Linked DNA regions of Homo sapiens: all the other regions are linked to region 1. Evidence: promoter capture Hi-C in human tissues and cell types (Jung and others, 2019). All regions are on one chromosome and are shown on one strand. The core of a region is centred on a gene start or on the middle of the fragment in contact, and the rest is flanking DNA. Distances in the headings are between cores, read along the strand shown. Region 1 holds the start of PHF10 (PHD finger protein 10). Region 2 overlaps LOC101929460 (a long non-coding RNA gene). Region 3 has its middle 12 kb from the start of THBS2-AS1.

Region 1 (3,928 bases), core at 884-3,383:
ACTTTCAACATAACTCATTTTAAACATTCCAGTATTTTTTCTATTTTACTGGTGAGCATTTTAAGGATTTTTATATCCTTAAACTTAAAAACATTTTCCTTTAGCTAAAAAGTTGAGACACTCAAAAATATACAAAAATAAAGTTAAAAATGCAAAGTGCTCAAAAAAGCTGAGACTACAATTTCATCAAGTGTTTTAAATTACTACTACAAATTCTAGGCAAAGGCATTATTATATAAAGTGAGCATCTGGGCAGCGGGCCTTTTTCTTGAGGGAGGTAGTAACAGCAATATTGTTCCCAATACATGACGGAATAAGGTAAGAATTTCCGTGTAACCGCAATACTGATACAGAGGCCCATGTTTTCAAAGACTCCCAAACATACTAAATCAGAGATGTGCCTTCCAGAGTTACAGGTGGTTTCCAACTACAGATCAGATGAATTTCTATGCATCACATCCTTCCTAGGGCTCAGGGGTCAAGAATGCACTCAGGGGGCACTGGCTCAGTGCCCTCCAGGTGCCGGGCCAGACGTCAAATGCTGGAAGTGCAAGGATGTGCATTCAGAGTCTTACAATCTAGTTACTTCCATTGACGACAGCCTTTGAGGAACCTTCAAAATGAGTCTCACAGCACGGTGGACGTGCGCAACGGGAAAAGCTCCCAAGCAGGCGCAGCCCGGCTAGGCTGCTACAGGACGGCTTCCCCTGCCAACGCGCACACGGCACACCGCGCACCGCACGAAGGCTGGCTGGCTCTGCAGCATTCCAGTTCCCACCGCCTTCTAATTTCAATCCAATTTCAAGCTTCCAGGCTTTTAAAACATCATTCCTCCCTTCCAACTTTCTGTCACAAACTGCTAGCCTAACTTTAGAACCAAAACGTTTTGATGCGTGACACTACTGCTCATCTCCATTTTCTCCACAAGCACCAATTTCTTTTCACCTCCTCAAGCAGTAAAAAGTTTTAACAGACTTCCGCTGAAAACATCCGGACGCTTGCGTATTAACTTAGTTATTACAGTAAGTTCACTGAGTGTGTTGATTTTCCATATCGTTCGCCACTCGGTTTTTGCAGTAAGCGTTCAAACACTTCGGCAAACTATGCGCGGAATGAACGCTGAGCGAACGCGCGCTTCTGCAGGCCCCTCCGAGGCCAACTCTCTCGGCCCCGGGCGCGTTCCGTCCCACGGCTGGCCTAGGAGGAGGCGTTTTGGGGACAAGCTTGTCAAGCAGGGCCGGCTGCCAACTTCGGGGAAGCCGCGCCGCGTCCCCCGCCCGCCCGCACTTGTTGCTCGCTAGAGGCCGCGGGCTCACCTCGGGGCCCCGCCTCGCCGACCACCCCCGGTCTCAGGCGCGGCGCCCGGCCTGGGCCCACGCCCCCGAGACGCTGGGCGGCCGCCGGTGGGACTGGGCCCACGCCCCGGCACCCAGGCCCGGGACGGGGTCAGGGTCGGGTCGCACCGGCCGCTTCCTCACCTTCGGGGACTGCGCTCCGGGGGTGGCTGGGTCGCTGTCGCACGGCCGCGGGGACAGCGCAGCCCCGGGCCCGGCCGCCGCCGCCATCAGCCCGAGCGCCCCGCGCCGCCGCCGCCGCCGTCGCCTCCGCCTTGTCCCGGCCGCCGCCGCCGCTGCCGCCGCCGCCGCCGCCGCCGCCGCGCGGGCCCCCCGCCGCCCCGGCCCCGCCCCCTCCGCCCGCCCGCCCGGGGGCCGGCCCCTGCCGCCGCGCGCCCCGCGGCCCGCCAGCGCCGCCGCCACCGCCATGGCCGTCGCCAGCGCGCCGCCCGCGCGGGAGGGCGCCAAAGGCTGGGAGGGCGCGGGGCTGCGGGCCGGAATGGAGGAGGCCCAGCGGCGGCGGCGCTTCTCACGTCAGCCCAACCCGCCCGGCCGCGGCCACCGCCTCAGCACCGTTGCCCCCCACAGCTCCGCCGCTGGCCTCAGCGCCGCCGCGACTCCCTTCAGCCCCGCCACTCGCTCGCCTCAGCCCCGCCGCTCGCTCGCCTCAGCCCCGCGGCCGCCTCAGCCCCGCCGCTCGCCTCAGCCCCGCCGCTCGCCTCAGCCCCGCCGCTCCCCTCAGCCCCGCGGCCGCCTCAGCCCCGCCGCCGCCTGGCTCCCCACGGCCCGGCGTTGTACTCGGCCGCGGCTCCCCCCAGCCCCCGGCGCGCCCCACCTCCCGCCCGCCCTCCGGCCCGCCCCGGCCCGGCACGTCGCCACTTGGCGCGCTCGCAGCCGCCCCCTCCCCGCGGCCCCCGGCCCGGCCCCTCCGCGCGTCACCCTCGTTCCCTCCCTCTCTCCGCGCCCCCGCCGCGCCCCTCCCCGCCCCTCCCGGGGGTCCCCGCCCCGCCCCCTCTCTGCCGGGGGTCGCCCTGCCCGGAGCAGTCGCGCGGAGACTGCGCGGCCTCCGCCTCTACGCGCTCGCGGTCGCCGCTCCTCTCCCGCCTTTGTTCTCGGGTCGCCCCTCTCGCTGGTGGCGCTCCGAGAGAGCAGCGGAGCCACCTGCCCAGGCCACGCTTCCCCGAGCATCCGCAGCTGCACCCGGGGGCTGTCGGCGCCCGCCCCGGAGCGTGCGGGAGGCACAGCGGGAAGAAGTCGCTGAGATTCGGCCCTCGTGGCTTTGCGTGCCCGCGTGGTTGATGCCTCCGCCGAGAACGCGGTCGGCCGGGAGCCGGGGAGGAGCGTGGACGCCGGCCTGGCAGGTACCCCCGCGAGAACGTGGGAGCCGGTGTATTTCAGCTGCATTTATTACTGATCTCGGGCTGCACCAGGGCACTTGTAGGACCGCACTAAAAACAGCGGAAAGTGAGGAGCCAAGCCTGGGTCCGGGGCGGCCCGCCGTACAGCTGGCCTCACGGATTCCACTGCCTGCGCCTGCAGATGACTTGTTCTGGAGAGTAGAGAATGTTCTCGGATTTAAAGTACAATCCGGTTTCCTTTCCATTCATTATAGTTGCCTACACTCAACAAACAAAAGTTGGGAAAGATAAAGGGATTATTCTAGCGCGTCACATTGACAAACACCGACGTTAACACGCTCAGTCCAGCCTGACTCACTTGCCTCAGGTCAGAGAGGTCACCACTGACGACGCCGGGCCCTCAAGCCGATCCTAATCCAGCTTGGTTCTCTCAGCCTCAGCCAGACCATCCGTTCTTGCCTCTGTCCCACCACGTGCAGGTGTAAGCTTCCGCCGCACTTCTTGTCTGAATCTGCCAAGAAGAAACTGCATCTTTCAGCTAAATTCTTTTCACTGATCAGGGTAGAGTTTAGCGGTTTTTTTTTTAAGAAAAAAAACAAAAACAAAAAAAAACTCTTAAGCTATTTGGTACTCCTCTCCCTCCGGGATTCTGTCTCTAGATTGTGAAAGCTGTCAGAGAATGGAGTCAGGGAAAGCCGTGATGGGAAAGTTCTCACTAATAATTGCCTGATATAAAGAATTAGCACAAAAGACTGCCAAAACCACAACCTTGCACAAAGGCCACAAAACTACACAAAAAAATGCTTCAAGGACATTTGCGCAGCAACTGCCTGTCCAACCTTGGACTGGCCATCCCCTTTGTTACTGATCTTTGTAGCCAAGGATAATTGTTTCAAAACAACTTACGTAATCCTCCTCGTTTTTCCTTTTAAACCCCTTATCTTCCTTTACCTCCCTGAATACACCTATAGTTTACTATGACACCATATTCTACATTGCAATGCCCACTTTCAAATAAATTTGTCATGTTTGGCAAACCTGTCTGTTATTTAGGTTGACAAGATCAAATGCAAATTTATTCTGGAGTCAACAAATAACTGATTCAGTCTTCCAATGTGCAAGGCAAAGAAGAATATTAAGGAGACACTGTATAGATTAGATCCCTGCCTATAGGCAGCTTCAACACTAATACAATATGGTACGAATATATAATTGTACTTTAAGGCAGCTTAGGTG
Region 2 (3,928 bases), core at 894-3,393, 690 kb before region 1:
TCATTATTCATTAAATCTTACTTCTTAAGAAAAACTTTTAAAAGTTCAAGTTGGATTTATATCATCTTTTTTGCTGAACTTCTGAGCCTCTTAGTCTGTACCAGCTGTGGATTCATGAGCACTTCGACGGAGAAGAGAGCAGGACCTCCTGTTTTAACCCTCCTGAGTTATCTGGTTCCTAATCCTGGCTTTCCACACGAATAACATTTGTGTCCACAGCACCCTGAGGTCCGCAGAAGCTTTGCTTGTCTGCCACCTCCCACTGGGGCTCCCCGCCTTCCGCTCGGATGCTGTCCCATGCCAGGATGCCTAGGGGTGCACCCTGAAAAGAATCATCTGGCCTCTCTGGGGTCCCCCACATCAGGGGTCTGCCCCTTCAGGACTGGCTGCCTGAGCCACCTCACAAATGATTTTAATCCTTTTTAAAATTAGATGTCCCTGTTTTCCTCACTCTCCAGAATGCTGATCTTCCTCAAGCTATGGCACACCATGGGCCCCAGTTTCTTTAATAAATATTATCCACCCGAGCCAGTGAACGCTTGGTGCCCAGCATCGGTGCTCTGTGCACTCACTCTTGCAGCTTCGAAAAGCGCCAGACTTACTCTTGGAAAAAGTGCAGTTGAAATGTGACGCCTTGATATTTTATTAGCAATCGTGCACCTCAAACCTTCAACTGCCACAATAAAAGTAAATGAGCATAACTTACCCAGGGTTTCTTGACGTAATTATAGCTTTTCAAAAGAGGAAAATTTTGCCTGGAAACTAGCTTTCAAGCAGAAAGGAAGGCAGAAAAAGTCCTGGGACATACACCTGACTGCAAAGACAATCATTAAATTGGCTGGAGAAATCTGCAAATACAGCAAATGCTATTTTTGTCCCAAGCTCGAATAGATCATGGCTTTTCCTAATTTAAACATCTCTGGTAAAATAGCTGAGTTTGAAGTCCAAATGTGGCAGATGTCTAAATAAGTTCTGTGCCTGTGTAAAGAATAAGCTGCCATGCAGGGGAAAATGCCTCTTCTGTCGGCAAGAAGTGGTTTCTGCTTTGGTGCTGTTCCCTGTGTCTGCATGTGCAGGAGTGACTTTGTGCACCTCCCTGGGTTTCTTCACCCTCCTGCCCTGTGGCTGAAGGGAAGTATGCCTGAGCGAATTCATGTTGCCCTCCCCGTTTTGTCTCATGGATCATGAGTTCAGACCTAGCACACTGTGCAGCACCCAGAAGCACAGTCCTGCTCAAAATGCTCCTTTCCACCGACACTTATCTCCCCTGCCTCTGACTTCCTCAGCATCACCGCTCCCTGCAACAGAGCCAGAGCTGATTGAAAAACACTTAGGTAAATATTGAGTTCCCCAGTCTGGGGCGATTAGAATTGTCATCTTCCCAATTCTGTGAAGAAAGGCATTGGTAGCTTGATGGGGATGGCACTGAATCTGTAAATTACCTTGGGCAGTATGGCCATTTTCACGATATTGATTCTTCCTACCCATGAGCATGGAATGTTCTTCCATTTGTTTGTATCCTCTTTTATTTCCTTGAGCAGTGGTTTATAGTTCTCCTTGAAGAGGTCCTTCGCATCCCTTGTAAGTTGGATTCCTAGGTATGTTATTCTCTTTGAAGCAATTGTGAATGGGAGTTCACTCATGATTTGGCTCTCTGTTTGTCTGTTGTTGGTGTATAAGAATGCTTGTGATTTTTGTACATTGATTTTGTATCCTGAGACTTTGCTGAAGTTGCTTATCAGCTTAAGGAGATTTTGGGCTGAGACAGTGGGGTTTTCTAGATATACAATCATGTCATCTGCAAACAGGGACAATTTGACTTCCTCTTTTCCTAATTGAATACCCTTTATTTCCTTCTCTTGCCTAATTGCCCTGGCCAGAACTTCCAACGCTATGTTGAATAGGAGTGGTGAGAGAGGGCATCCCTATCTTGTGCCAGTTTTCAAAGGGAATGCTTCCGGTTTTTGCCCATTCAGTATGATATTGGCTGTGGGTTTGTCATAGATAGCTCTTATTATTTTGAGATACGTCCCATCAACACCTAATTTATTGAGAATTTTTAGCATGAAGGGTTGTTGAATTTTGTCAAAGGCTTTTTCTGCATCTATTGGAAACTACCATCAGAGTGAACAGGCAACCCACAAAATGGGAGAAAATTTTCACAACCTACTCATCTGACAAAGGGCTAATATCCAGAATCTACAATGAACTCAAACAAATTTACAAGAAAAAAAAAAACAACCCCATCAAAAAGTCGGCGAAGGACATGAACAGACACTTCTCAAAAGAAGACATTTATGCAGCCAAAAAACACATGAAAAAATGCTCATCATCACTGGCCATCAGAGAAATGCAAATCAAAACCACAATGAGATGTGTGGCCATCTCACACCAATTAGAATGGCAATCATTAAAAAGTCAGGAAACAACAGGTGCTGGAGAGGATGTGGAGAAATAGGAACACTTTTGCACTGTTGGTGAGACGGTAAACTAGTTCAACCATTGTGGAAGTCAGTGTGGCGATTCCTCAGGGATCTAGAACTAGAAATACCATTTGACCCAGCCATCCCATTACTGGGTATATACCCAAAGGACTATAAATCATGCTGCTATAAAGACACATGCACACGTATGTTTATTGTGGCATTATTCACAATAGCAAAGACTTGGAACCAACCCAAATGTCCAACAATGACAGACTGGATTAAGAAAATGTGGCACATATACACCATGGAATACTCTGCAGCCATAAAAAATGATGAGTTCATGTCCTTTGTAGGGACATGGATGAAATTGGAAATCATCATTCTCAGTAAACTATCACAAGAACAAAAAACCAAACACCGCATATTCTCACTCATAGGTGGGAATTGAACAATGAGATCACATGGACACAGGAAGGGGAATATCACACTCTGGGGACTGTTGTGGGGTGGGGGGAGGGGGGAGGGATAGCATTGGGAGATATACCTAATGCTAGATGACGAGTTAGTGGGTGCAGCACACCAGCATGGCACATGTATACATATGTAACTAACCTGCACAATGTGCACATGTACCCTAAAACTTAAAGTATAATAATAAATTAATTAATTTAAAAAAAGAAGTTACTGAAAAATAAAATAAAATAAAATAAAATACTCTAAAAAAAAAAAAAAGAATTGTCATCTTCCAAACCTTAGACATGGCCAGACATCCCCAGTGGGCTGCCAAATCCTGTCACCGTGTGCCTTCCTTAATCCAACCAGGAACTGTGTTTTACCTTTCTACCCCACACTCCTCCCAAGATGCTCAACCTTGGTTTCATCATTGTACAGATGGCTGCAGACTCAGTTGTCCAACATTCCCCTGGGGTGAGCTGATGACCTGAACCCTAAGAACGCTCGATTTGAGAACAATGTGATTTAGTGTTGTTTTTAAAGACACTAAGTTTTGCGGTGCTTTATGAAAAGCAATGGCCAGCTTGGAGAGTGAAGTGGCAATGGGGGTCATTGAAGCTCAACTGCTGTGGTCTTCCCATCCTTCAAGGTCAAGGGCACTCATCTGATGTGTAGCCTGGGGGCAGCAACAGAGACTAAAAATCCAGGGAATCAAATGAGGCAGTTCACAGCCAGGGAAGAGACTTCCATAGGGATGAGGACTAAGGCAGATAACTCCAGGATAAAATAAAAGTGACTGCACTTTCTTGCACTGCTTGGAGTCGGCTACCAAGTATGCTCAAGCATTGCTAAGAGTATCCTGATGGACGGATGCAAAAAAACAGATGTCTGCTTAGTATGCTGTGGTCAATAAATAATTAACTTGCTTTGTAAGAAGCTGTCTCAGATTGCAAATAGACCGTACCCTAGTAGGAAAGGATCAATAAAGCACAATCACTCTATTGGCCAATTAGCTGCATATTATTTAATCAAATGTGGAAATCCATCTT
Region 3 (3,928 bases), core at 920-3,419, 520 kb before region 1:
AACGGTCAATCACCTTTGAACGTCTGCTCCCTCTCTTTGAGGGAAATGCTTTAGGGCAGGTGAATATTCCTGAGTATTCCTTGGAGACGCTTGTGTTCCAGAATTACAACCAAGACCTTTGCTTTCATGCCACGTCAGGAACATGTGTCCTCTGCTCTTTTCCTCTCAGCCTCAGGGGTGCAGATGTTGGGCTGCGACATGTCTCAAGGAGACAGTTTACCCCTTCAAGATCCCACAGATCCTTTCTGCATTCCCTGTGAGTGTGCTGACCCTATGCAATTGCAAAGCCACGAGGCCAAGCTTGTGGCCTCTGCTCCCCTTGGGGCCATCTGGGGGGTCTGGTAAATACTGCTCATCTCCACCCTTAGAATCACCCTGGTGCAGGCTGCACCAGACCTGCCTCCCAGTGCTGGAGAGGGGACACCAGGGGTAGAAGTCCCCATAGACAGCCCGGTCAGTGCAGCCATCTCTTCCTCCTGCGCCATCACATCTTTTGAGGGAAGCATCTTCACCTGCTCATTACCTGCAGGCTGAGATCCCAGGCTCTATACACAGTTGATGGACTGGGTTAGGGGCAAGCGTGAGTAGGGCCCAAGCTCCAGGCACATGTGACTCTGTGTCAGTTCCCATTCCTCTGGGAAGCATTTTTCCAACTCCCCATAGCTGGACCCTGCCTTGCGTCTTCAATGCAACTCTCCCTGGGTGGGCGCTTTCCTGCCCCCACTCTCCATCGCCCTCTCCAAGGGGGGTTCTATGCACAGCTCCCTCCCCCAAACCCCTCTGCCCACCCTCTAGCTCCCGCTAGCCATTTTATTATTCATCTAATAGCTACTCCAAAACACCTCAAATTAGCCATTTTGTTTCTTCTATTGAATTAATTTAATTCTTACAATAGCCCCATGAGGAATATATTATTTCTGCTATATCACAGATGAGGAAATTGAAGCCCAGGGGAAGCTAGTGACTTTCCCAGGGACACACAAGCAGTCAGTGGCTGGGCCAGACTGAGGGACATGGCCCCCTGTGCTCACCAGCCTCAACACGATACACGCTCCCAAAAAGCTTCACATTTCCTCAAAGGTGAGGTCAATAACATACTTCTCTGCAAATAAAAAATAATAATTAAATTTCACTGACTGCATATTATGTGTGAGGGAATCTGCAAACAGCTTCACCCATGTCCCGTCATTCTGGCATCAAAACACTCAGTCAGGTGCTGAAATGGGCATCCTCACTCCACACGTGAGAACCTGGAGGCACCCAAAAGCCAGGCAGTGGACACCCTGGAATTTACTCATCCCTACCTCGGGCAGGAGTCCTACCCTCATGCCATCAGCCTCCCCAGGTACACAGAGGATGTGTAATCATTACCTACCCAGGCAACAATTGAACTGAGCTAAGCTTTGGGTGGTATAAGATGCACTAACATTTAGACATGCCAGGATTCCAGCTGGGGCAAGCACATTCTCCTCCAGTGAAGCCACGAAGCCCCACTCTGCTCCTGAGAGGCCAAGAAAGAGACGGGCAGATGGTGAAGCCATCAAACAGCCCTCTGGACACAGCCCGGGAGCCCTGGCCAACAACACCATCCATCCCAAAAGCCAGCTTGGTAGTTCCCACCCTCATTCCTCATCAAAAGAAAGCATGATTACTCTGGCAGGAAAGAGCGGCTTCCCAAAATCCAAACTGGCAAGATGGTGGAATTCCTCATAAGAAAACTCCAGATGCTCCTGAGCTTGCTCTCCGGCAGAACGTCCTCAGCACATCTGGTCTGCGCTGTTGGATGAGACACACAACACAGCACCCACGGCAAGGTCCAGAATCCCTGTGGGCTGTGAGGTCCAGAATCCCTGTGCTGCCACAGCTGGGCACGGGCTGAGGGACCTCAGACAGGGCCTCCACGATTCTGAGCCCCAGCTTCCTCATGTGAGACCCAGAAATAGGTAGTGAACACAGGAATGATTTAAAAAATGTAATGGGCATGTAGCATCTACTCAGGGCTGGACACAGCCTTCAGTCACTGAATATACGTACACACACATACACACACGAAGCGCTATGGTATGTCAAGAAACATTCTGTCCAATACAACAGTTTTTAGAAATTTTAAGATCATGACCCCTTCAAGAAACAATGAAAGCAATGGAATCACCAGCCAGAAAAACAAAAGGCACTGTATATAGAATAATCCAGTATGGAGCATCCCGGGAGCCTGGCAGCGGGTGGAGAATCTCCGTGAGAATGTGACGAGTCCATACCTTTAGTCGCACGGTGCAGACCCCCGATGGGAACTGCAGAGGGCCTAGCAGAGGGGCCCTGGGAAAATTTAGGGGAGGCCACAGGAGGCCCAACATCGCTCAGAATGAAGATCCTCAGCCTACAATTTTCTCCTTAGCTACTTTTCTAGCGCTTCCTTCGCAAACAGAGGCAGCAGACTCAGGCAGCCACCTGCACTGCTCTGCCTCCAGCGCAGGCCTCCCGCGGCTGCTTCTCCTCTGCCTCTTGAAACTTGTCTGTGCACAAAAGCAGAGTGGAGGGAAAAGAACACACACGTGTGGGAAACTCTGTGCTGTGCACACGCGTGCATTAAATACACAGCCTCATTTGGCCTCGTGGAAACTCAGGGAGGCAGACAGTGTGTTCCCATCTTAGAGACGGGAGCAGTGAGGCTCAGTGAACATAAGTTACAGTGTGGGTGGCGTGGTGAAGCTGACATCACATGTGGCCGCCCCACTCCAGAGTGTAGTCTTCCCTCCACGTCTGCATCACCACCGGAGAGCAGCAGGCGTGAGAACAGGTGGACCTGGGGGAGCAGGGAGACTCGGGACTTCTCATGGCCTGGTCTGCCGTGGTCCACATGCTTACCTTGGTTTCTCAGCTGTATTGAGGGATACTTGGTGTTTGAGGCTGATCTCACACTGCTATAAAGAAATGCTTGAGACTGGGTAGCTTATAAAGAAGAGGTTGCATTGGCTCACGGTTCTGCAGGCTATGCAGGAAGCATGATGCTGCTCAACTTCTGGGGAGGCCTCAGGAAACTTACAATTACGACAGAAGGCGAAGGGGAAGCCAGCGCATCGTACATGGCTGGAGCAGGAGGAAGGAGGGAAAGGGAGGTATCACACACTTTTAAACAACCAGATCTCACGAGAACTCACTATCACAAAAACAGCACCCAGGGGATGGCACTAACCCATTCATGAGAGCTCCACCCCCATGACCCATTCACCTCTCACCAGGCCCCACCTCCAACACTGAGGATTACAATTCGACGTGAGATTTGGGCGGGGACACAGATCCAAACCATATCCATTGGTAAATGAACATTGTTTGCATTCAAGGTGTACAATGTGATGGTTCTATACGTATACACTGTGAGATGTTGACCCCAGTACAGCTGCTTAACGTGTTTATCACCTTACATAGTTACTGGGTGCGTGTGCATGCATGTGGTGAGAATACAAGATCTACTCTCCGCAAATTTTAAGTATTCAATACATTATACATTAGTTTGAGATGTAGTCACTGTTCTGTACACTAGGTTCTCAGAAACTGTTAATTTTATATGTATAAGATGATATATGTTTAGGCCTAAAGGCTTAGGCCTTTGCTCAAAGAAAAAGAAATGTCTTAAGGTGAGTTTATTAGTCTGACAATTTCATTTACTGAGTGTTTACTATAGTTATGATTGCTTCCCATTTTTTTCTTTCTTTTTTTTTTTTTTGAGATGGAGTCTCACTCCGTCGCCCAGTCTGGAGTGCAGTGGTGTGATCTCGGCTCACTGCAACCTCCACCTCCTGGGTTCAAGCAATTATCCTGCCTCAGCCTCCTGAGTAGCTGGGATTACAGGTGTCTGCCACCAGACCCGGCTAATTTTTTTTGTATTTTTAGTAGACATGGTGTTTCACCATGTTGGACAGGCTGGTCT

Evidence for each region. Contacts are between HindIII fragments. The study calls those that stand out against the background at their distance.
Region 2: a contact is called between a fragment that was not itself captured here and the fragment with the promoter of PHF10 in region 1, in 2 of the 25 tissues and cell types used here (dorsolateral prefrontal cortex and mesenchymal stem cells).
Region 3: a fragment that was not itself captured here is called in contact with the fragment with the promoter of PHF10 in region 1 in 2 of the 25 tissues and cell types used here (dorsolateral prefrontal cortex and mesenchymal stem cells).

The regions. Positions count from the first base shown.
Region 1 is chr6:169,722,367-169,726,294 of GRCh38, forward strand. It overlaps PHF10 (PHD finger protein 10), which reads right to left and starts at 2,134. Exons shown (of 12, transcript NM_018288.4): 1 at 1,479-2,134. The coding sequence starts at 1,565. It also overlaps a transcript of DYNLT2 not described here. RefSeq lists silencers at 1,236-1,615, 1,716-1,955, 2,026-2,325 and an enhancer at 2,257-2,799. The HindIII fragment of the contact is 6,446 bases long and covers 1,015-3,928 here.
Region 2 is chr6:169,030,288-169,034,215 of GRCh38, forward strand. LOC101929460 (a long non-coding RNA gene) reads right to left here. Exons shown (of 2, transcript NR_134622.1): 2 at 3,884-3,928. Among named protein-coding and RNA genes, the nearest start is that of LINC01615, 130 kb to the right of the region's middle. The HindIII fragment of the contact is 5,289 bases long and covers 1-3,928 here.
Region 3 is chr6:169,199,466-169,203,393 of GRCh38, forward strand. No RefSeq gene overlaps it. Among named protein-coding and RNA genes, the nearest start is that of THBS2-AS1, 12 kb to the right of the region's middle. The HindIII fragment of the contact is 4,562 bases long and covers 1-3,928 here.